Linked DNA regions of Homo sapiens: region 1 is linked to region 2. Evidence: promoter capture Hi-C in 16 types of primary human blood cells and fetal thymus (Javierre and others, 2016). All regions are on one chromosome and are shown on one strand. The core of a region is centred on a gene start or on the middle of the fragment in contact, and the rest is flanking DNA. Distances in the headings are between cores, read along the strand shown.

Evidence for each region. The method cuts DNA at HindIII sites, captures the fragments that hold promoters and counts their contacts. A CHiCAGO score of 5 or more calls a contact.
Region 1: a contact is called between a fragment that was not itself captured here and the fragment with the promoter of CXCR4 in region 2, in 1 of 17 cell types (non-activated CD4 T cells). The highest score is 6.2, in non-activated CD4 T cells.

The regions. Positions count from the first base shown.
Region 1 is chr2:136,175,327-136,182,074 of GRCh38, forward strand. No RefSeq gene overlaps it. Among named protein-coding and RNA genes, the nearest start is that of CXCR4, 61 kb to the left of the region's middle. The HindIII fragment of the contact is 342 bases long and covers 4,527-4,868 here.
Region 2 is chr2:136,112,197-136,119,572 of GRCh38, forward strand. CXCR4 (C-X-C motif chemokine receptor 4) reads right to left here and starts at 5,953. Exons shown (of 2, transcript NM_003467.3): 1 at 5,850-5,953; 2 at 2,153-3,716. The coding sequence starts at 5,864. The coding sequence ends at 2,673. RefSeq lists a silencer at 4,575-4,744 and an enhancer at 4,875-4,944. The HindIII fragment of the contact is 7,141 bases long and covers 1-6,387 here.

The DNA.
Region 1 (6,748 bases), core at 3,448-5,947, 62 kb after region 2:
ATGCAAAGAGACCAAACAGGAGAGTAGCCTTGCTTTATATCAACCTGCTTGTGTGGTAACAAATCTATTCCTGAGAGAGCAAGAACCCGCTCATTCCCCCACTCCTTGAGACTGCATTAATTCCTTCATTAGGGCAGATCCCTCATGACCCAAATGCCTTTGAAAGGTCCCACCATCTGTCAACACTGTCACATTGGCAAATACATTTCAACATGAGTTTTGCCGGGGACAAACCACATCCAAACCATAGCACTTGGGATTGAATCCTGGTTAGCTAAATGACCTGGTTTCTAAACTTCAGTAGGCCCTGGGGCAGTAGCATTCCACCAGCTTGTTGTGAGGACTGAATGAAGCATTGCATACACAGAGCTCAGCCCAGCTCCTGGGGGAACATAAAAAGCTGGTAGACGGCCGTCTTTGGAACGATTGTTATCATTGCCATTAGCGTTTGGGAGCTCACAAACATGGCAGCCCATTCTCACTCTGGGTTTTTTTTTTTTTTTTTTTTTTACCTTTTCTTCCTCCTGAGACCACTTCTGCTCACCTCAGTAATTCACCAGGTGGACATTCAACATCTGCTCCAGGTGCATTGCACTGTGCTCAGTGCTGTGGGGTGACAAAATGATGGGGTATCATTGGGCCTTCTAGAGGGCCTGCTGTCTGAAAGGAGTTAAATGCTGATGGACCCAACACCAGGCAGGACCTGATGCATGCTGATTTGTGTGCTAACACATGGGAGGGAGCCAGGGGTGTTGGCATGCCAGGAAGTGGGTGGAGAAGGACTGATTTGCAACAGAACCTTGGGTAAGTCACTGCCTCTCTTGGGGCTTGACTTTTCCCATCTGGAAGACCAGGGAGGTAGGATTTTCAAACTTTTTGGACCAGGACCCATAGTAAGAAGTGCCCACAATTTTATGTTGCCACTCTCAGAACCATATACATAATTGAAACATGTTTCATGAAGCCATACTCACTTGTACTACATGAAATTCTCTGTGTTGTCTTTTTTTAAAAAATGCTGGTTATAACTCATTATATTGACTTTCTGACCCCTTAATGGTTCAATTCAAAAACACTGTACTAGATGATCCCTAAGAAGCCTATCAGCTTGAACTTTCTGTAATTTTCGGTCTACATGGGTTGTATGGGTTTAAAAGAAGAAGGAAGGAATGATTAATCTCCTAGTTTTAATGACTGGCCAGAGCCCAGCTAGATTAATTAAAAAAAATATATATATATGGTTGGCTCCCATAGCAGCTTTCTGGAGTTCAAGGACATGGTCTGATGGAAATGAAGAGGCTAATTGTTGGGGTTCATTTGCTGGATCATGATGAGGCTGCAAACAGAAAAAGTGCATTACTCATGACAATTGGGTCGTTTGTGGAAAGGGAAGAAAGGACCCTGTCATTAAAGTTTGTTTCTCTCCTGCTTTCTAGATATGGGAATTCTGGAAAGAATCCACTCTCCTCAGAAAAAAAAAAGTCAGCTTGTTTTAATTCCTAAATGGATATGGTCCTGTGAACTAGGGGACTTGGGAGAAACGACTTCCCTGACTATGTAAATGTTTGTTTTTGCCTTAATGTGTTTGTCCATTTGCTTGACTGCTCAGAAGATAGTCATCTGAAAACACAAGCTTCAGGAGAAACTTTAAAAAACCCAACAACTAGTGCAAAAAAACCTACCACCCAACCCCTAAAACGAGAATACCAAACTGTGACCTCTCTCTCCACCTTCTTAGCCTGTACTTTAGTGCACTTTTCATAGAGAAGCCTCCACTTCCCAGTGGCCCCTTTGGGACAATGCCTTTGGCTGGGGCTTCTGAACACCCAGGTGGTTTCATGAAGTACCTCCATGTTATCCAGAACCAAGAGAAGACTTTTTCTTTCATTCCTTCCTCCCTTCCTCTCTCCTTCCCTCCGTCCCTTTCTCCTTTCCTTTTTCCTTTCCCCTTTCCATTTTCCCCTTTCCTGTTCCCTCTCCTCCCCTCCCCTTCCCTCCTTTTTCCTCCCCTCCCCTCCCTTTCCCTTTCCTCTTTCTTTTTTGGCAGCTCTTTGCACCCTAAGGAAATTTCTGGAATTCTGGTGACTTTCTGAGATCAAATGGCCTTTTTAACATCTCAAGTCTTTCAAAGTCCTTTGTTCCAGACTTTCACCCTTCAGTCTGAAGCAAAGGACTGATCAACACCAGCTGGACAGGCCCTTTGGGAAAACATCAGCAGGAGGGTTCACGGATATAGTCATGGGCTTAAAAAAGCCAAGACTGCTCTCTGGCCCTTCCTATCTGTTGTCTGCCTTCAATTTTGATGAAAAACACAGGGTTTAAAGTTGGTATGTTACTGGACTTCCTATGCCTCTGTAAAAATGTGGTTAATAATATTAGGTTGGAGCAAAAGTAGTTGTGGTCTTTGCTATTACTTTTAAATATCAAAAACTGCAATTACTTTTGCACCAACCTAATAGTAAGAAATTTATAGGATTAAATTATATATAGGTTGGGCGCGGTGGCTCACGCCTGTAATCCCAGCACTTTGGGAGGCCAAGGTGGGGGGATCACGAGGTCAGGAGTTTGAGACCAGCCTGGCCAATATGGTGAACTGCCATCTCTACTGAAAATACAAAAATTAGCTGGGTGTGGTGGCACACACCTGTAGTCCCAGCTGCTCGGGAGGCTGAGGCGGGAGAATCGCTTGAATCTGGGAGGCGGAGGTTGCAGTGAGCCAAGATTGTGCCACTGCACTCCAGCCTGGGTGACAGAGCAAGACTCCATCTCAAAAAAAAAAAAAGAAAGAAAAAATATAAATACATACAAAGGGTTTAGAACCATGTGGGAAGTTACTCAGTGAAATGCAGCCAGCATTGTTACTGTTGACCAGTTTATCATCCCAGAAAGAAGGTGGCAAATACAAAGACAGACATGGAGAGAATGAAGCTAAAGGAGGAACCCTGAGCCTAAGGTCATGCTGCAAAGCGTAGGGGGGAAAGGTATGATCTCTCACCCATCTTAAGGGTCACCACCATAACAAAAGCTAGGCTAACAAAGAAAAGCATAACAAATGTATTTAATCACGTGTTATGTGACATGGGAGCCTTCAGAAATGCAGACCCCAAAATCTAGGGAAATCTCTGTTTTTATGTTTAGGTTTCATGAAAAATGGACAGCTGTATAGAAATGTGATTGAACAAAAGGGTGTGATCTAATGGTCATGAAGCCGGAGACCCAGCAGGGCCTGTCCAGATTCTTCTTGGATTTTCTCTGTAACAGTCCCTCCCCTGGGGTATAAGTCAGGAACCTCTGAAATTAAGGTCTTCAAGGGAGAAGGGAGAGGGTGGCCTTTCTAGGTTTTTATGGCTTGCTTTTGGGGAAAGTGGTTCTAGTTTCTATGAGCCACCTTAGGGAAGAGGAATTCTGATTTCTATGACTTGCTTTGGCAGGGAAAATAAAGAGGGGTAAGAGATAGGAGAGCAGGAGAAGGTCAGAGAGTCCTTGCTTCTGAAGCTTTCCAATTTCCTTCAGTTCAAAGTACTTAGCATGCTCAAGCGCCATACTTCGGGGTATCATTTTCTGAGCCCCAGTGCAAGTCAAGGCAATTGAACCAAGATGGTGTCAGATCGTTTGATCTGGTCCATCCATTGGGCATGGGAGGGAGGCAGCCACAAAGTCTTGGTGAAAATGGGGTGAGAGATGGGCCTTTGTGAAATAGGGATAGAGATCTGAACCCTGCAGGGTTCCTAAATGGATGAGCAAACCAACTGGAACTTGTCACTAGTTGGCTCTGGCTAAAGGTGACTATAATAATAACCTTCTTTTACGATAGCTGGGTCCTCTCCTCAGAGCTTCAGGCTTTCTGAATTCAGAGCCTTCCTTAAGGTAAGGAAATGGCAGTTTGCTTGAATACAATGGTCTTTTTAAGGCAGCTCAGATGTTTATCTTATCCCAATATTTACCCTATTGAATAGGATTTGGGTGGCTTATTTTTCTAATTCTCTGGGGAGTGAGATTTCGTTGTGTTAAGTTGAATATCAACTTTTAAATGAAAAAATGGATCAAACTGAGAGAAAATCCTGTTCTGACCCAGGAGAGAAAAAGGCTCTGGTAAAATCTGGCCTGGATTTTTCTCTACCCATAACCTTGAGGGTAAGGAGCCCAGGGGAATGGCTGAAACAACTGCAAAAAACAACTACAGGACCCGAGTCCAGGCCTGCAGCAGGGAGCACCCAGGATGTTCTAGAATCTGAGTGCCTAGAACAGCTATTGACTGAGCCAGAGCTCCCACCCCCTTGACTCCCCAGGTGGCCCTGGGTCTGGCCAGCCTTCCTGTTTGAGCCTGGGTTAAATCCTAACATCATTTATTTTTTCCCAGTTGGTCTGAAATAAGCCTCAGGAAATAGGATCTAGGACAACAACCTCTTCAAGTAAAAAGGACAATGGCCAAATTAGCCCTCAGGGTATAGGTATGTGTTCAGCTACCATATCTCTTTTTAGAATGGAAGATTTAATTTACAGTATCCTCTTGCACCACCACTGAAAGCTTCCCTTCAGATCAGACTCAAGACAACAAGTGTGTATTCAGATTATCTGAAAGTCTCAAGGGTTTTTTTCTTAGCCAGGACCATAAGAACTAGACATGTATTTACTTAGTTAATCCTCTCAACCATCCTCTAAAATAGGGTTTATAGATGAAGAAACCAAGGCACAGTGAAGCCAGGTTACGTCAGGATTAAATAGCTCTAGAGCAGCTGAGCCAGGGTGTGAAAGTGTGTCTGCATAACTCCGAATGCTGTGCTCTTAGCGCTATACCCTTGGAGCAGTCCTTGGAAACTAAGCATGGTGTGGGTGTGTAAAGGTAGTGGGCTTTATTTCCCTTAGTAAGCTTCCAGTCAGGTTAGAAAAACAGGACTGGCCAGAGGAGGGGAAAGAATAAAGCGATTGCTTGTAAGTTTAGAATTCAGGTCGCAGTGTGTGTTGTTTGTGTGGTTTCAACCAAATTCTTTAGGTTTCTGAGATCGTGGCAGGAAGGGAGGACATGCTGCCACTTCCAAGACACCTGAGCAATTTCATTTGTGCTCCTTAGTGGCTGAAGGACCCATGGGTAAGTAGTTCAGCAAGAAAAGACTGCAGTTGTGCCAGACAGTGGGCATCTTTTTGCTCTGCACCTTTCCTGGAGGCTGAGACTTTGTGAAAAGAGGAGGTAGACAGCAGCTGCCCATGAGCTCATGAGAATAAAAATCTCAAAGCAGCCTTAAGTATTGTACCAGCAAGGTCTTTCTCATCCAGACTTTCACCTCCAAACATGAGAATTTCCCTAGTGATATTTACACATCTCCCATCAGGGAAGCAGGATATTTCCCTGACCCCTTCATGGGCAGGAACTGGAGTGCATGGGTGTTAGAACAAGCTGGCTGCTTTGGTGCCAGAAGAAGTAGACTCCACTATCTTGGTCCCACTGTGTTTCACCCCTTTTAGCAGGAGCAGCACAGGTGAGTGGGTGCAGGAGTCTGGGCGAGTGCTTTTGGGAGCCAGTAGGAGCAAAACTCCGTGTGGGCCCTGCAGCAGCATCTAGGATGGGTGCCCGTGACCCCTGAAGCCCCAGAAGGAGTGTTACAATGCCCTTTTAGCTCTGCCATCCACAGATGGCTTAAGTGTTAACAGCTCAGTGGAGGGTCAGTGTGACAGCCTTTTGCACCCACACTCACGACACCCGAGTTCTTGTTTGGTATCCAGGAGGAATGAGGTTGCACGAACGAATAAGAGATGGTAAATGCAGGGGATTTTATTGCTGATGAAAGTGGCTCTCAGTGGAAAGGGGAGCTGAAAAGGGAACAAAGTGGGAAGGTAATCTTCCCTTGGAGTCTGGCCATCCCCAGCCGGACTTGTCTTCAAAGCTACACCATCAAGCTGTCTCTCTAAAGTCAAGCTGCCTCTCTCTGACGTCCAACCATAGTTTCCAACATCCAGCTGCTTCTCCTCTCTGCTGGCTGAGCCTGGGGTTTTTATGGGCACAGGATGAGGGGCGAGGTGGGCCATGGGTTTTGGAAAAGGCAACATTCAAGTGGGAAAATAGGGATGTATGTTCTCACTTTGGGCCCTGGTATTAGGCTTTTTGGCTTGAAGGTGGGGCCCTCGCCAGAAAACCACTCTCTTTTGCCCAGAATTTCCCTGTCTCCTGTCCCTGTCATCAGCACAGATTTGCTTATTCATTTATTTCAATCCACAAGTGTCTACTGAGAATGTTCTATATGCCAAACACTGTTCTGGAAGGTTGGAGCACACGAATGGAGCACATGAATGGTCTGTAGCATTAACAACAACAATGAAAACAACAACAATGTTTGTTGGTATAGTGAAAGGTGGTACAAGCAACATTAAAAATTAATCAGGCCAGGCGCAGTGGCTCATGCCTGTAATCCCAGCACTTTCAGAGGCCGAGGTGGGCAGATCACAAGGTCAGGAGATTGAGACCATCCTGGCCAACATGGTGAAACCTGGGCATGGTGGTGCATGCCTGTAGTCCCAGCAACTCGGGAGGTTGAGGCAGGAGAACCACTTGAACCCAGGAGGTGGAGGTTGCAGTGGGCTGAGATCGTGACACTGTACTCTAGCCTGGTGACAGAGCGAGACTCCGTCTCAAAAAAAAAAAAATACAGTAGGAGAAAATAATTGTACCATGTATGCCAATTAACTGGCCAATATGCATGATATGTAAAAAGCACCTATAAACCAATAAGAAAAAGACATCCCATATAAAAAT
Region 2 (7,376 bases), core at 4,703-7,202:
ATCATTATTTTAATTTAAGCATAATTATAAAAGGGGGCTGGGAAGCCTGCAGTAGGGGGAGATAAATTTTCAAGTGTCATTTTAGGAAAACAAAGGCTTTGCAAGAGAAAACATCCACTTTCCCCCCTAGTTGCAGGCTTAATGTTATTAATAAGTTAGATGTCAGATGTATGCTGTTATTGGCAGCATGCATACAATTTAAATATTTTAGCTTTCATTATACAACTGAATCTACATGACTGAACTTCAAGGGCCCCATTCATAAGGGATGAGGAGAGGGAACAATCAGCTACTTCATGCAAGGGCTGGCCAGCAGACTGGGTTTCCCCACATTGTCAGACAAACCACGACACAGGGAAGGCTTTGGAGACGCTCTAACATGGCAGGGTTGGGACAGAGAATGATGGGGGTGGGGGGCACCCTTTTGGGGCAGGGAGAGAGCCAAGGCTTGTTTTTCTTTTGGAAAAAAAGCTATTCCATCTTTGTTCCAAGGGAGAATGAAATATCCATTAAGACTGGTGACACTGGGAATTTTGTTTTGGCTCAGTTCCTTTTGTTGTGACTCCACGGTAAAGGAGAGGAATCTGGGGTAAGGAGGTTTCAAGCCAAGATGAGAAAGAAAAAGCATGCCTTCCAAGGATTTCTTCTATTGTCTCCCGGAGAATAAATATTTATAGAGAGGGTTCAAGTGAAGTCTGTCTCAATGGTTGTGGCTTTAAGACTAAGCCTTTGAGAGAGTGCATGTAAAACTATGCTTAAATGAAGGGTGATCCAATTAGGCTTCTCAGGGAAAACCAAGAAACCTCAAGATAATTTCCTATCTGAAATCTAATTGTGTCCTCAAGTAGAATATGAATACCACTTTGAATTACCCCAGATCCATAGACGGCAGCAAAAATGTACAGCCAAATTGGATTCTATTTTAAGTAATTAAGTTATTTCCCTTCACAGGATCTATAATTTGCCTTGAACAAATGTGATTTGCCTCAGAAAGATAAGGCATTGCAATTTTTCCTCCAAAATGGATTTTCTGTGCCAGAAACAATTACTAAAAGTAGACCAAATATTGTCGTAATTATATCCTACTTATTATCTGAGTGCATGCCTGGAGTGTACCCTGTTTGTGTTCCAATGTGAGGTAGGTATGGCTAGAGTTTAGAAATTATCTTTAAATAGAAACCAAAGCTGAAATTTACTCAAGAGCCTGGGGCTTGCACAATGGTCGTGTTAATAGCAACGGGTGGTTACATAAGTCTCCAAAATCTTGTGCAAAATGTGAGCAACAGGGAGCTTGCTTCAGTGGACCTTCCTTCTGACTCTAACAAATATCAGTATTAACTTGTAGCTGCTTGGCTGAGTCCTTGAGGAGGTGCTAGGTGTTGCGATAGTTTAAGAATAAAAGTGTTGAGATTTGCATAGAAGATATTACAAGAGGAGTATTTTGGTCATGGTTAATTTTATGAAGAAAACATTCACTTTTGGCTTTCTTTATTAGCAGTTCAGTTGACTTATGCCCAGGTGTTCTGAAGGGCAATAGTAGGTAAGAGTTAAGAGCAAGAGCTGGAACAATAAACAGAATTAGTTCTTGGCTTTGCCCCCTTGAAAGTGCAATGTATGGAAAGTCTCTGAATCTCAGTTCTCTTGTCTGTGAAAAGGGAGTGATGGTTATCTACACTGAGGATACTGGATGAGGAAAGCACACACCGTCTGGCATTGCACAGACCTGGGTTTCACAAGTGGATGGTGGAGTAAAATCCAAACACGACTGCATACCTTTTCTTCTTTATACATGCTTATCCTCTGAAAGATGACCTTTCATACAAATAGGTGCTGGCTGGCCATTTCTAAACTTCCATTTGAATTTAAAGTGGTGAAGGCTTCAGATTCGTTAAGTCATGTTACCTGGTTTAAAATACAGGATTTGATACTTACTACATGCCTTTAACCAAGTTACTTAGGCTTTCTGTGCCTCCGTTTCCTCTTCTATAAAATGTAATTAGTAACAGAAGCAGAATCTATCAGAGTTGTGATAAGGGGTAAGTAAAATATTACAATGAAATACCTAGGATAGTGCTTTGCATACCATAAATGTATTACTTTTGTCTTCTACTAGCCAAAAGAATGTCAACAGAAATCAGAACATAACACTAAGTAAGTTTAACATGTACTTTTATTAACAACTTAATACAAGACTGTACACTGTAGGTGCTGAAATCAACCCACTCCTGAAAACTGAAAAACCAGCATTTCTATACCACTTTGGGCTTTGGTTATAAGTGCCATCTTCTACAGCAAAATCACGTCTTAAGAACAGGAAAAACGTTCCACGGGAATGGAGAGATTATCTATGCATAAACAGCTGGGGATCATTTCTAGCTTTACGTGATTCACTACACGCTCTGGAATGTTCAGTTCCCTTTTCTACAGTCCTACCACGAGACATACAGCAACTAAGAACTTGGCCACAGGTCCTGCCTAGACACACATCAATATGAAACAAAAAAAATTTATATAAATAAGTCAATTAAACTTCACAAAAACTAAAGAAACACAAGACAAAAATCCAACAAGCAATAAAAACTGTACAATATTGGTCAGTCTTTTATATCTGAAAAATGTGTAACTTAAAAAAAAGTTATTTATCGTATAAAAAAAAGTCTTTTACATCTGTGTTAGCTGGAGTGAAAACTTGAAGACTCAGACTCAGTGGAAACAGATGAATGTCCACCTCGCTTTCCTTTGGAGAGGATCTTGAGGCTGGACCCTCTGCTCACAGAGGTGAGTGCGTGCTGGGCAGAGGTTTTAAATTTGGCTCCAAGGAAAGCATAGAGGATGGGGTTCAGACAACAGTGGAAGAAAGCTAGGGCCTCGGTGATGGAAATCCACTTGTGCACAGTGTTCTCAAACTCACACCCTTGCTTGATGATTTCCAGGAGGATGAAGGAGTCGATGCTGATCCCAATGTAGTAAGGCAGCCAACAGGCGAAGAAAGCCAGGATGAGGATGACTGTGGTCTTGAGGGCCTTGCGCTTCTGGTGGCCCTTGGAGTGTGACAGCTTGGAGATGATAATGCAATAGCAGGACAGGATGACAATACCAGGCAGGATAAGGCCAACCATGATGTGCTGAAACTGGAACACAACCACCCACAAGTCATTGGGGTAGAAGCGGTCACAGATATATCTGTCATCTGCCTCACTGACGTTGGCAAAGATGAAGTCGGGAATAGTCAGCAGGAGGGCAGGGATCCAGACGCCAACATAGACCACCTTTTCAGCCAACAGCTTCCTTGGCCTCTGACTGTTGGTGGCGTGGACGATGGCCAGGTAGCGGTCCAGACTGATGAAGGCCAGGATGAGGACACTGCTGTAGAGGTTGACTGTGTAGATGACATGGACTGCCTTGCATAGGAAGTTCCCAAAGTACCAGTTTGCCACGGCATCAACTGCCCAGAAGGGAAGCGTGATGACAAAGAGGAGGTCGGCCACTGACAGGTGCAGCCTGTACTTGTCCGTCATGCTTCTCAGTTTCTTCTGGTAACCCATGACCAGGATGACCAATCCATTGCCCACAATGCCAGTTAAGAAGATGATGGAGTAGATGGTGGGCAGGAAGATTTTATTGAAATTAGCATTTTCTTCACGGAAACAGGGTTCCTTCATGGAGTCATAGTCCCCTGAGCCCATTTCCTCGGTGTAGTTATCTGAAGTGTATATCTGCAAAAGAGGCAAAGGAATGGACATTCACTTCCAATTCAGCAAGCATTAACCCAGTTAAAAAAAATTTTTAAAGCAATTTAAAAAACCAATTCAGGCTTGCTTTCTTCAGGAAATTCTGAAGTAGTGGGCTAAGGGCACAAGAGAATTAATGTAGAATCCTACAACTCTCCTCCCCATCTTTTCCCATAGTGACTTCATTATATCCTTCTTTGGTAGAACCAATTACAAAATTCTTTGTTTAGAACAAAAGGGCACTGAGACGCTGAGGGTTTCAAAGTCACATCTTGGCTAACTCCTCTGCCCCGCCCACTAGAGGGAAGAAAAAAAACCTTCCTTAGGAGGAAAAAAAAAATACACACAAAGAGGCCACTCCCAGGCGGCGTGGGGGGTGGGGTGGGTGCTGCTAGGAGGGGCAGTGATTAACTTTTTGTAAGAAGTTTTTCGCCCAGGGAGGGAAGAGGGGAGAAGGGAGGATCACGGGGGGAGGGCGGGGGCGTTGCAAAGACTCATTCTCCTAAAGCGCAAAAACTTAATTTTCCCACGCCTGCCTAAATACAAACCATTCTGGGCTTCAAGCAACTTGTAGTGGGTAAAGAGAATGCGGTCTTAAAACGAAGGCCCTTCGGTGCTTGGGGTATATTGGGCGGGAGTGTCAGAAAATGAACAAACGGCACCTCCTCCCCCAAGCGGGCGCTCCTCCGGTGTGTGGGTCTCTTGCCATCCTCGTGTTTATCACTTGGCGCGTTTGGGACGTTAGGGAGCGGGGCATTTTCCTGGGTGGAGAAGGTAACGGGGTCTGCACCCGTGGTCCTCGCCCCAAGTTTCATTTCCTCACTCTCCCGGGTGGCTTCCCATTACCCCGCCACTGATCCAGTTAACCCGGCCGGAGGTGGGCAGCTGGAAGCCTCCAGGCGGTGGGCACGCGGGGGGCCGGGTCGTCCAGCCCCGGGCCGCCGCGGCTGCCCACTACACCCACGCCAACCGCCCGCAAGCAGCGCTGCAGGGGCTCCGCTGGGCGACACGCCAGGCTCTGTCCCACAGGGTGCTGGGGAGCGACTGGGCGGCTCCGCCGCGAGCGTCTTTGAATTGCGCGCCGCTGCAGGAAACCAAAAACTCCCTAGCAAGAGGGTTTCAAAAGGTTTCTGGAAACCACCGACGGTTAAACATCACAACTGGACTCGGAGAGAGCCAAACGGTTTCCCCACTTGCACCTGCCAGTCTTCGCGGCGGCGACCTGGCAGCCCAGGTGCGGTCTTAACCGCCCCCGCCCCTCACCCCGTACCCGCTCCTATCCCCGGAGCGCAAATCTCAGGGCTGGCAGCTGCGCGGTGTCAAAGGGGAGGTCAAACCACTCCGCTGACCTCTGCACGACCCCAAACTCTCGAACTGCAGGACCCACTCGCGGCCGTGGGGAAGAGGCGCGCTTCGGACGGCGGGAAGGTTTTCCCCCTCAAACCCAAAGCGCGCGGGCGGATCAACTCCTAGCTGCTGCCACCACTCGATCCCCTCAGAGGATCGGCGCGGTGGGTCCACCCGCCTCTCCCGCCCTCTGCCTACTGTGCTGGGAGACTGGCACAGCTCCGTCGGCCGCACAGAGTTTAACAAACACGCACCCAGTGTCAAGAACAGTCACCAGGCGCTTAACCCCGAAGTTAAAGCGGGCGCAATCTCCTCCTGGGAACTCAGCCCAGGCACGCCGCCCTCCGCCTCTAAATTCAGACAATGTAACTCGCTCCAAGACATCCCCGCTTCCCCAAGGAAGAGACCGGTGGTCTGAGTCCCGAGGCAGCGCGCACGCCTTCTCTGCACTTGTGCACAGAATGTTCTTACGTTTGCAAACAGCGTGCAAGCCGCCGCGCGCGGCGGGACTCAAGGGGGAGACACATGCAGCCACTGGAACGCTCTTTCCAGTCGTTTCTCCTCGACTCACAGAGAAAAAGATTCCAATCCTGCTCCCCCCCCACCCACCCGCACTATATAGGCATGGTCAAGAAAACTCCTTTCGGTGACCCTTTTTTGGAGTACGGGTACCTCCAATGTCCTGGCCGCTTCTGCCCGCTCGGAGAGGGGCTGCGCTCTAAGTTCAAACGTTTGTACATTTATGACAAAGCAGGTTGAAACTGGACTTACACTGATCCCCTCCATGGTAACCGCTGGTTCTCCAGATGCGGTGGCTACTGGAGCACTCAGGCCCTCGGCGTCACTTTGCTACCTGCTGCCGCAGCCAACAAACTGAAGTTTCTGGCCGCGGCCGGACTTTTATAAAAACACGCTCCGAGCGCGGCGCATGCGCCGCTGGGGCGGGGAGGGAGAAGGCGGGGTGGGGGAGAGGGGCAGACGCGAGGAAGGAGGGCGCAGGGGCGGGGCGGAGAGGTGCGCGGCTTGGGAAGCCCAGGGGACCCTGCTGTTTGCGGGTGGTCGGTAGTGAGTCCGGAGCCGGACAGGACCTCCCAGAGGCATTTCCTAAGTTTGAGGGAAGCGGGATGCGCCTGAAGACAGGTGGGAAGCGCGGGCTAGGAACGCGTCTCTCTGTGGCGCGTCCATCCTTGCTAAAGTGGATGGAATTCCAGACCTGGGAATGCTACAGTAGAGACACTGAGGCCCAGGGAAGGGGAGTGACTTGCTGGAGTAACCCAACCAGTAGGCGGCAATGCTGGAAGTAGGGCCAAGCTTCCAACGCCATTCCCCGCGCTTTCAGCAGACGCAGCCCATTCAGGAGGTAAAAGGAGTAAAGATCCTTCCTTCGGAGGATGTAGCTATACTTGCACATTCACAGCATCACTAGGGTCAGGTGCAGATAATTAGGAGATACTTTCAGAAGAAGGTAGGATTTGGCATAATTCTGGAGACTGATCAGATGTAGATATGTATTGCTCAGTAATTTCATAATAGCGGTAACCAATTCGCGAATAGTGCTTTATTATCCTAAAAGTATGCTTTATTATAAGAGTAATTTAGCGACCAGTACTTTTTGTAACAGATCACTAGGAACTTGCACAGAATCACTCATTCATTCTCACAACACCGTGTGGGTATTACCATCACAGAGATGCATTTAGTCCGATATTTATAGAAGGACGAACTGCGTGCCACGCACTGTTCTAGGCGTTGGGGATCCAGCGTGAACCAGACAAGGCCCGCATTCGGAGAAACCAGCAAATAAGCCCGGAGAGATGAAATGCCAGGGATGGGCAGGGATTCCAAGCCGGGCTTGAACCCAGGTCTTCGGTCCCCATACTCGGCGTCTTCCACGATTTTGAGCAGAGGACAAGCTTTGGCACGAATCAGAAATTAGGTTGAAGAACTGGGCGGGGCGGAGTGGGGGTGGGGGTCAGACGTTTAAAGCGATCTCAGACTGGCTGAGGTTTGCAGTGGGCGCGCAGACAGTGCTTTCCCCCTCGCGCCACTTCCCTCCGGCGCGGAGACTGGGTGGGGCGGGGGAGCGAGTGTGGGGCGGGGCCGAGAAACTGCGTCCGCAGGCGGGGTGGCCGCTGCGGAGATAGCTGGGACCGAGGCGCGTGCGTCGCGACACGGACCCCAGAGGCCCCCACCCCGAAATGGTCCCGAGGAGAGGGATTGCCCAGACTGCACTCTACACACGATCCCTCTTTTCTATATCAAAAGAGGAAACATTTCAGTCTGGAGTGTTCCAGAGGT